Regions from separate parts of the Homo sapiens genome. Here region 2 is linked to region 1. The links are contacts of gene promoters, found by promoter capture Hi-C in blood cells and fetal thymus (Javierre and others, 2016). All regions are on one chromosome and are shown on one strand. Each heading gives the region's core, a stretch centred on a gene start or on the middle of the fragment in contact. The rest is flanking DNA. Distances are from core to core; before and after follow the strand shown. Region 1 holds the start of STARD7-AS1 (STARD7 antisense RNA 1). Region 2 holds the start of ITPRIPL1 (ITPRIP like 1).

Region 1 (5,148 bases), core at 391-2,890:
GGGCGACAGAGCGAGACTCCGTCTCAAAAAAAAAAAAAAAAAAAAAAAAGTGGAACACGGACATTTCATCATCAAAAATGAAAATTAAAAGTTAATGATAATTTGTCAACTTAGAAGTTTTCTTCCTATTCTTTTATTTCCCACACCCAAGAGACTGTGATTATAACCAATGGCCAAGTAGCAAAAGAATACTAATAGGAACTAGGCAAAATACCTATCACGCTTTGATAGCTTAACTTTTTTGTGAATAAGGTTGTTTGTGGTTATTATTTTAAGTTGCATTTATAAAAGTTATCTTTCCTGCTAGGAAAAGTATTCCCAGTTCTTAAGATAGACTTGCATTTACCCACAATTCATAGTGTGGCACAAATAGCTGCCTGGCATCTGGGTGTTACACCTCCCACACAGGCCATGGTATAAACTTTATTGGGGTATTTCCATTTTTAACCTAACAAAAAATGTGGAATAACAGGTTGTTTCCCTGTGGAGGAAATATCAAGAATAAACAGGCGAGTGTGGAATCTGCGGAGGGAGGGGATTGTCTCTGGTTCCCGAAATCACGGCAAAGTACTTTCTGTGCAGGGAGGGCACAGTTTAAGAATATCTGTTGCAAAGAAAATACAGACACAAGGTAAACCAAAAACCAAAGCAAAGTTTCCCCATGACATTACCTGGAAACTACAGTCTCAGAACTACAGATTAACAAACGTAATCAATGGTACTGGGCTTTTCACAGTTTTGATGACGACAGCATGACTTCAGAGTCTAATGGGACACTATTCCCAAAGTTCTAGTTAACGTCGCAAAAATCTGACCTAATTCTTACAGGTTCAAATGTCTGGGCTGCTGGTTTGTGTAACCTGGACAAAATCGCTTCCAGGCTCTCAATTTTGCCACGAGTCACGATGACAGAGGGCTCTCCTGGCTTTTCTCACAGGCCTGAGTCCCATCTGGATTGAAGTCATTTTGCAAATAGCAGCCCACCACCCTTAGGCCAAATTTAAAATTTGTTTTGAATTTGCACCTTTCTGGTTGTGTTAAAGATTACAGATTACATGAACAAGGGCCTCCATGCCTTCGCTATCTAATTGATTTCTACAGTGTTGTTTCTTTACTGTCTTGCTCGCCCCACTCAAAGTCTCCCTCCTACACACCAGCCTACACACTTTCAGTTCTATTTTATAACCCGACAAATGCAAATTGACACACAGAGACAAATAACAACGCGGTTTGCTGAAGCAGGTTCAATCGACTGTATTGCCAATTAAAAGACCACCGGGTAAACAAGGGCCAACGACCACAGGGCAGGCCCCAGGGTTCACAAGCCCCCCCACCCCACGGCCCAGAAAGAGCTCGCCGCAGCGCCCACCTCTGCAACTCCTCCTCCTGGATCCTCTCCTCGTCCCAAACGAAGACGCCGGCTAACGCCGCCATCAAGGCAGAGGCATGGCCAGGACGGCCGTGCAGCCGGCGCCAGAGGCGGCCGAGGAGAACGCGGCGTGAGCTCTCGGAGTAGAGGCGGCCGTAGAGCTGCGCGATCTGCTGCGCGCGCCGCACGCGCAGGCCCGTGACGAAGCGGCACTGATTGGCCAGAAGCGCCAGCAGGCCCCCGCCCCGCGTCCCCGCCAGCCAGGCGGCCAGCAGCCTCCGCGGGAGCATGCCGCCTCCCGCAGGGCCCGCCGCGAGCTTCCGGGGCCCAAGGAACCAGTCCGGAGGGGCGCAGGCGGTGGTCGCAGCGTCCCCCTAAATGGCCGGCCACGAACCCGTCTCACGGTCCCGCGGCCAGGAGCCGCCGCTCATCTGTCTCTGCAGCCACCGCTGAGGAAGAGTCTCCTCTGAGGGGAGAGTCGGTCATGGCAGCAGACGCCGGGATGGCTCCGCGACTGCTACACCAGGCACTCCTGGGCCCGGGCAGCAGACCAGTCAGCCCTGTGGCTCCTCGGCGACCTCCAGCGGGCGCCCGGGGCCGGGATGCAGGGCGCGCGGACAGAAACGAGACAGACAGCTCAGGCCCAGCAGCACGCAAGCTCCCGCGCCTTCCGCGACTGCCACACGCGCGGCGCGCGCGCACCCTACTTTTTCTCCGCCACCTGGGCCGTGATTGGGCGCGACCTGGGCTCCTGGGTGCTCATTGGCGCCGTGAAGTGCTCGTCACCGCCCCCTCCTGCCCCTTCATGCATGCGCGGAGGCCGCCTGCTAGCAAGGTAGGTGGCTCGGCGGCGAGAGCCGTCAAGGGCGCATTGGAGAGTGACCCTCGGACCCGGCTGCCGCCGTCGCCGCCATCTTCCGGCCGTCCCAGCCCCGCCCCGCGGAGAAACCTGGCCAGGTTCCTGTTAGAATCCTGCCAGGTGTTAACTTGTTTTAAGAGGCCGGCACGCTGGCCCCCTTCTTTATTAGAGTGCAGGGTGGGGGCGGGGCTCCGCATGTCTCTGCGGGGGCTGGGGGCTCCCAGTGATAACCGCCATTGCAGAATTAAAACTGAGACAGTGAAAGAGATCTGACCTAACCAATTCCATCTTGCTTCTGTCCTTGTTCATTCCTGAGCTTAGGTGAACTAATTTTGGGAGGAACTTAGTTTATAGTTTAAAATAAAGAGGATAACAGCCCTTTCCCAAAACAAATCTTCTTATCTGGGAACTAGACTGCCTTTGTAGGACTAATAAGTTAGCCATAAGATTGGAAATTATGGTTTAGGAGTCATGCAGCTGGAGGCTACGATATTGTGATCCCCCTAAACTGCTCTTAAGATCAGTGCTTGAGATATTTTGCTGACCCCGCACTGGTTGGATCCTGGCACCACCCAGATGGATAAACTGGCTCATCTGACCTTGTGGCCCCCACCCAGGAACCAACTCAGTGCAAGAGGACAGCTTCAATTCCCTATTATTTCATCTCGACCCAACCAGTCAACACTCTGGACTCACTGGCCTTCCCCCACCCACCAAATTATCCTTAAACACTCTGATCCCGGAATGCTAAGGGAGACTGATTGAGTAATGTTGAAACAAACTCCAGTCTCATAGTGGGCTCTGCGTGAATTACTCTTTATTGCAGTTCCCCTGTCTTGATAAATCGGCTCTGTCTAGGCAGTGGGCAAGGTGAACCCATTGTACGGTTACAAATTTGGGGGTTCGTCTGGGATACCCCTTGTGGCTACCTGTCCATGGTTCGGTAGCCCCACCTCTGGTGACAGATCCAGAGGCCAGCCTAAGCGGCCACATAGTTCTCTTGGACTAGGGGCTAACTCTGGCACCGTCTCTGCCAGTGGGGCACTGCTAGCCCAATATGCATGGACTTAATCGCAATGGAGAAATAGTCCTGGGGAGACATCCCATAACTGTAGCCCTGTCACAGGGTATCTGTAGCTCCATAGCGGGGCGCTGTAGCCAGGTCATGGAGTGTCTGTAGCTATAGCCCCATCATGGGGTGGCAGGTTGCTGAGTATCCTAGGTGCTGCCAGTGCCTCCTTCCTTCTCCGGACTGATTCTGTAGCCACATGGTGGGTGTCTGTAGCTCCACCATGGGGTGTCTGTCTCAGTTTGGCTCCTGGGGCATCCCAGTTGGCTGTCCCTAACTAGGAAGAGTCTTGGTTCGGGAGACTTCTCAATCAGGAATATTTCAGGGAGATTTGTCAGATGGAGAATAGGAGGATAGTTTGGAAGGGGTACTCTTGGAGTTCTTGGTTAGGGACCTTAATTTGGAAGGCCTTCTGTCTGTCTTGTCTTCGTGTGTGTGTTTGTATATATGGAGGGGATCTCTGAAGGAATTGCTGATGAAAATCCAGCAGGCCTAACTTGGAGAACACTCCTTATTTATCTAGTCACATTCAGTGAGCCCTGAAAGAAGTTTAACAGGCCTGATTCAGGGTGACTGCTCAGAGACCACCCATTGAATTCACGATTCAATGACCCACCGTGCCTGGCCTTAAAAGGATTTTTTCTTAGAAAAAAGAGCTCTAGGCCGGGCATGGTGGCTCACACTTTTAATCCCAGCACTTTGGGAGGCCAAGGCGGGCGGATCACGAGGTCAGAAGATCCAGACCATCCTGGCTAACACGGTGAAACCTCGTCTCTACTAAAAATACAAAAAATTAGCCGGGCGTGGTAGTGGGCACCTGTAATCCTAGCTACTCGGGAGGCTGAGGCAGGAGAATGGCGTGAACCCGGGAGGTGGAGCTTGCAGCAGTGAGCCGAGATCGCGCCACTACACTCCACCCTGGGCGACAGAGCGAGACTCCGTCTCAAAAAAAAAAAAAACAAAGTTGACTTATAGAGCCAATAAGCCAAAAAATTGACTTATAGAGCCCCTTGGGAAATCTGGCCTCATACTATGTCAACACAGTCCCTGTACGAGGTTCCTGACCTGTGGTAAGTAAAGAATGTCACTTTCTAACAGGCTCAGGAGACCTAAGTTATCTTGACACCTCAAGAGGAGAGGAATTTACCCAACTCATAGGTATTCGAGGGTACAAACCCATGGCTGGGCTTGGCTTTAAAAAGGTCTTATCTAAGATTTCTTATGGAACAGAGTTCCATCAAAGCCAATTTTAAAAGCCTATGTGAAGGCCAGGCGCAGTGGCTCACACCTGTTATCCCAGCACTTTGGGAGGCCAAGGCAGGCAGATCACAATGTTAGGAGTTTGAGACTAGCCTGGCCAACATGGTGAAACCCTGTCTCTACTGAAAATACAAAAAGTTAGCTGGGCGTGGTGGCAGATACCTGTAATCCCAGATACTTGGAAGACTGAGGCAGGAGAATCGCCTGAGCCTGGGAGGCGGAGGTTGCAGTAAGCCACGATCGCACCACCGCACTCTAGCCTGGGCCACGAAGCAAGACTTCATCTCAAAAAAAAAAACAAAGCCTATGTGAAAAATAATTATTCTTGCTTCACTTTATGCAAATCATCAGGCCAAGTACAATAAGACTGCGGTTTATTTTGTAAACAAATCAGTTCTATCATGATTTGTTTTTAGTAAAAATGGGAACTGGAGAGAGAAAAATTATGCTTCAGAAGAAAAACTGTGGTACACCTTTTGTTAACTGTTCTTAAGTTTTTTTCTGCAGTTTGAACTAAATCCTAAATTCTTTGTGGGCTACAAGTTCCCAGGCTAATGCTTTTAAATCTTTACTTTTAAAACTGGGAACTGC
Region 2 (5,148 bases), core at 872-3,371, 120 kb after region 1:
ATGGAATTGGAGGATATTAAGTGAAATAAGCCAGGCACAGAAAGATAAACACCACATGTTCTCAGTCACATGTGGAACCTAGAAAAAGTTGATGTAATAGAAGTAAAAGGTAGAACAGAGGATGCTAGAGGCTGGGAAGGGGAGGGGAAGGTGGTGATAGGGAGGGATTTGTTAAAGGATTCAAGATTATAGCCAGATGGGAGGACTAAGTACTAGGGTTTCACACCACTGTAGGTTGACTACAGTTAACAATAATAGACCAGGCATGGTGGCTCATGCCTGTAATCCCAGCACTTTGGGAGGCCAAGGTGGGCAGATTGCTTGAGCTCAGGAGCTCGAGAACATGGTGAAACCCCCACTCTACTAAAATACAAAAAAATTGCCGGGCTTGGTGGTGTGTGCCTGTAATCCCAGCTATTTGGGAGGCTGAGGCAGGAAAACTGCTTGACCCAGGAGGTGGAGGTTGCAGTGAGCTGAGATGGTGCCACTGCACTCCAGCCTGGGTGACAGAGCAAGACTCCGTCACACACACACACAAAATAATAATAGTAATAATATATAGTTTCAAATAGCTAGAGGGAGGATTGAACCTTCCCAACACAAAGAAATGATAAATGTTTGAGATGATGGATATGCTAATTACCCTAATCTGAAATTATACATTGTATGTATGAAACATGACTGTGCACCCTATGAATATGTACAATTATTATTTGTTAATTAAAATAATACAACTTTAAAACACATGGTCTTAAACATTATCGTTTTTGCACACTCTGAAGCATATATTTTGCATCCTGACATCATGTCATAAGTGAAAAGATAAGAGACTTTCATTATTACTGCTCCAAATGCATGAATGCTCAATAACCTGTGATCTATTTTTCATAATTCACATTTATAAAAAGTAACTTTGGAACTTCAGTCATTGTCAGCTAGCAGACAGTTTTTCCTGCTCCACAATTAAATAAGTCAGTATTCTTGGAAGTATTGTACAAGTTGTTTGGGAGCTCCCTACACATTGCCACTGGATAAGAAGACCTGAAACCCAGCCATGTGTGATGGCTTACACATATAATCCCAGCATTTTGGGAGGCCGAGGCGGGCAGATCACCTGAGGTCAGGAGTTCGAGACCAGCATGGCCAACATGGTGAAACCCCGTCTTTACTAAAAATACAAAAATTAGCTGGACATGGTGGCATACACCTGTGGTCCCAGCTACTCAGTAGGCTGAGGCAGGAGAATCACTGGAACCTGGGGCGGGTAGGCTGCAGTGAGCCAAGATGGTGCCACTACACTCCAGCCTGGGTGACAGAGCGAAACTCTTTCTCAAAAACAAACAAACAAATAAAAACCCTGAAACTTGTCTTTCAGCAGAGGGATTTTAGTGAGTTAGTATCAAGGGGTCATCACTTCCTTTTCTTCTTGGATAGCTGACACAAGACAGGAAGACTAAGGGCTCTTTCTGATATCTGAAGATCCCTTTCAGGAAACCCATTCTGTTGTGTTTCTTAAGGTGTGATAAAGCTTGTCCAGCCTCCACACCGTATAAAGTTCTCCTTTATACACCCATGTATCAGCAGAGCTGCCCTGTAGGTAGGATTCTTACTCCCACGTGGCCAGTGAGTAGCAAGCAAGGCCCCAAGTAAGGTCTTTGGGTGCTGTCTGTTCTTTCATGAGAGTCACTTTGATATGAGAAAGGGGTTGGGGAAAGATGCCTGAGTCTGGGCGTGGGCTGGGAGGGAAGCACATTTAGGGTGCTGAAACCACATCTTATTTCGTGTGCCATTTTGCTCAGGGCCAGCCCGAAGTGAGAATGGCTTTTCTCGGTCAATTCCTAGTTTTGCCACCATCATCCTTACACCCGAATCCTAGTAAGTCTGTTCTCCACTGAACTGAGCTGAGTGCAGCTGACAGCAGGCACGGCGGTGCCCCATTTGCCACCCCAGGGAGGCCGAGCAGCGGAGAGTGTGTGGCCACGGCCCCTCCACTCTCCCAGCAAACCCACGGGGGCCTCGGTGCGGACAGAGACCCGGTGTGGGGAGGCCGCTGCCCCTGCACGCTGGGCCACGGGGGTTTGGGCGGGGAGGAGCTTGTACTGGGTGGGCGGGGAGGAGCCCGGACGGCGGGAGCGGCTGCGGCGCGCGGGCGCCCTCGGAGCCGCGTGCTGGGGGTCGTAGGGGCCCACCGCGCTCAGCCAGACGTTCAGACGCTCGGACAAGCATGGTCTATAACCCAGGAAAGGGGAGCAGGGCCACTCCCGCGGGCGGCCCCAGCGATGAACCGGACGCCCCCACCCTGCCGGGAAAAAAGCAGTGGCGGTCAGGCCGCGCTGTCTCTTTAAGATCGTGTTCCTACTAACACTGACGGTGAGTAACCTGGCCCTGGGTCCCGGGAGACATCCCGAGGTAGGATGGGCCCTTGGCCTCCTACGGATAGGCGGGTGAGAGTACAAATCTCTGGGCGTGGAATTTGGGGAAGTTATGAATGGGGGGAGGGTCGGGTTCCGATTTGAGCCAAAGCCCCCAGGTACCTTGTACATTTTAACAGGGCTCCTAGAGAGGGCGGGGAGACGAAGCAAGGCCAAGTTCCAAAGGGAGGATAGGCCCAGCTGGCTTCAGCGTCCACACGGCATAGTCCTTCATGAATGTTGGTAAGCGCGGTAGCTTGTGAATTAGGGTGAGTGGCAGAAGCTCGGGCTTCACGGGTGGGTGGGGAGGCAGTGGAACTGACCACTGCCGGCTGTCAGGTAGGCCTTGGGCACCTGGTTCTGCAGACAGTTTTCTGAACTAAGAAGTGAAGCTAGCCTGCCCACACACGGGGTATCCACTAGCCCCTTAGGAGCAGAGAGGGCACCGTAGCAAGCAGCTGGCGGCACTGTGCCTCTCTTGCGCTCCCTGGGCAGAGAGGGAGAGGCTGAGTGATGAGGCTCACTTCATACTGGGTGAGCAGAATGAAGACTGTGAAGTCACAGAGGAAGTGGAATGCTACAACTGGCTGCCGGGGCAGAGGAAAGGTGTCACCCAGGCAGGTTCAGGGCTTTCTGGCTATAAAAGGGAGCCTCTGGGATCAGCAGGTCATATCTGGTGCCCATGGTTGACTGAGGAGTCGGGTGAGGCCACCCTACCACAAGGGTCCCCCTCCCCATCCTACACAGGAATGAAAACAGTCCCATGTACACTTTCTGGAAGCCTAAATACCACCCACACCATGTGGAAGGAAAGCAGGAGAGAGACTGAGTGGCACATCCTTTCGCCCTCTTTTCTCTCGAACCTCCTCCCAGGCCGACCACCCTTGCTGTGTCCAAGCCAAGCTCTGTGGGCTTTCTGTTCCTCCTGAGTAGCTGATTTTCAGAATTTGGGGTACCAGGGCTCTGGGGAATGTGAGCTAGAGAGCAGATAAGTCTGGAAGATGACCACTGACTCCTACTCTCCTACTTCTCCAGATGCAGAGGCCTCCATGGCTGTGATAAGCCTGCTGTTCTTGGCAGTGATGTATGTTGTTCACCACCCTCTGATGGTCAGTGATCGGATGGACCTGGACACATTAGCCAGGAGTCGGCAGCTGGAGAAGCGAATGAGTGAGGAGATGCGCCTGCTAGAGATGGAGTTTGAAGAGAGAAAGCGAGCCGCTGAGCAGAGGCAGAAGGCAGAGAACTTCTGGACAGGAGACACATCCAGTGACCAGTTAGTGCTGGGGAAGAAAGACATGGGGTGGCCGTTCCAGGCCGATGGCCAGGAAGGGCCTCTGGGCTGGATGCTGGGAAACCTGTGGAACACTGGCCTCTTTTGCCTTTTTCTCGTCTTTGAGCTCCTGCGACAGAACATGCAGCATGAACCGGCCTTTGATTCCAGCAGTGAGGAGGAGGAGGAGGAAGTCCGTGTTGTCCCTGTCACCTCTTACAACTGGCTTACTGACTTCCCCTCCCAGGAGGCCCTGGACTCCTTTTACAAACACTATGTCCAAAATGCCATCCGTGACCTGCCCTGCACCTGTGAGTTTGTGGAGAGTTTTGTGGATGATCTCATTGAGGCCTGTCGGGTGCTCAGCCGCCAAGAGGCTCACCCACAATTGGAAGACTGCCTGGGCATCGGGGCTGCCTTTGAGAAATGGGGAACCCTCCATGAGACCCAGAAATTTGATATCCTGGTGCCCATTGTCCCCCCACAGGGCACCATGTTTGTCCTGGAGATGAGGGACCCAGCCCTGGGCCGCCGCTGTGGCTGTGTGCTGGTGGAGTCAGAATGTGTGTGCAAGCGTGAGAAACTCCTAGGGGACGTGCTGTGCCTGGTGCACCACCACAGGGACCCCTCGGCAGTCTTGGGGAAGTGTAGTAGCTCCATCAAGGCAGCTCTCTGCACCGGCTTCCACCTAGACGTGTGCAAGACTGTGCAGTGGTTCCGGAACATGATGGGCAATGCCTGGGCCCTTGTGGCCCACAAGTATGACTTTAAACTCAGTCTCCCACCGTCTACCACCTCCTGCAAGCTCCGGCTGGACTATCGCTCAGGCCGCTTTCTCTCAATCCACTTGGTCCTGGGGGTGCAACGAGAAGACACCTTGGTCTACCTGGTGAGTCAGGCTCCTGACCAGGAGCAGCTCACCAGTGTGGACTGGCCTGAGTCCTTTGTGGCCTGTGAGCACCTGTTCCTGAAGCTGGTGGGGCGCTTTGCCCCCGAGAACACCTGTCACCTCAAGTGCCTCCAGATCATTTTAAGTCTCCGGCAGCATCAGAGCTTACCCCATGGAGCATCCCGCCCCATCCTCACTTCTTACCATTTTAAAACAGCTCTCATGCACCTCTTGCTACGGCTGCCCCTCACGGACTGGGCCCACAACATGCTCTCTCAGCGGCTCCAGGACATTCTCTGGTTCTTGGGCCGTGGCCTCCAGCAAAGGTCCCTCCATCATTTCCTCATTGGTAACAATTTTCTGCCCCTGACCATCCCAATCCCTAAGACATTTAGGAATGCTGAGCCGGTCAATCTCTTCCAACACCTGGTGCTCAACCCCAAGGCACATTCACAGGCAGTGGAAGAGTTCCAAAACCTTCTGACCCAGGTGAAAACTCTGCCTCATGCCCCACTGGCTGCAGCACCTTGATGTAAAGACCATTAAAAAAAAAACAGAGGAAGGTATTTCTAATT

What was found. The method cuts DNA at HindIII sites, captures the fragments that hold promoters and counts their contacts. A CHiCAGO score of 5 or more calls a contact.
Region 2: the fragment with the promoter of ITPRIPL1 here is called in contact with the fragment with the promoter of STARD7-AS1 in region 1 in 4 of 17 cell types (neutrophils, monocytes, erythroblasts and 1 more); the score reaches 13.0 in neutrophils.

What each region holds. Positions count from the first base shown.
Region 1 is chr2:96,206,776-96,211,923 of GRCh38, forward strand. It overlaps STARD7-AS1 (STARD7 antisense RNA 1), which reads left to right and starts at 1,641. Exons shown (of 4, transcript NR_046322.1): 1 at 1,641-2,204. STARD7 (StAR related lipid transfer domain containing 7) reads right to left here and starts at 2,052. Exons shown (of 8, transcript NM_020151.4): 1 at 1,370-2,052. The coding sequence starts at 1,659. RefSeq lists silencers at 1,469-1,728, 2,079-2,298 and an enhancer at 1,746-2,336. The HindIII fragment of the contact is 17,331 bases long and covers 1-5,148 here.
Region 2 is chr2:96,323,196-96,328,343 of GRCh38, forward strand. It overlaps ITPRIPL1 (ITPRIP like 1), which reads left to right and starts at 2,122. Exons shown (of 3, transcript NM_001008949.3): 1 at 2,122-2,370; 2 at 2,552-2,654; 3 at 3,447-5,148. The coding sequence starts at 2,645. The coding sequence ends at 5,104. RefSeq lists a silencer at 2,037-2,286 and an enhancer at 2,309-2,809. The HindIII fragment of the contact is 6,653 bases long and covers 1,527-5,148 here.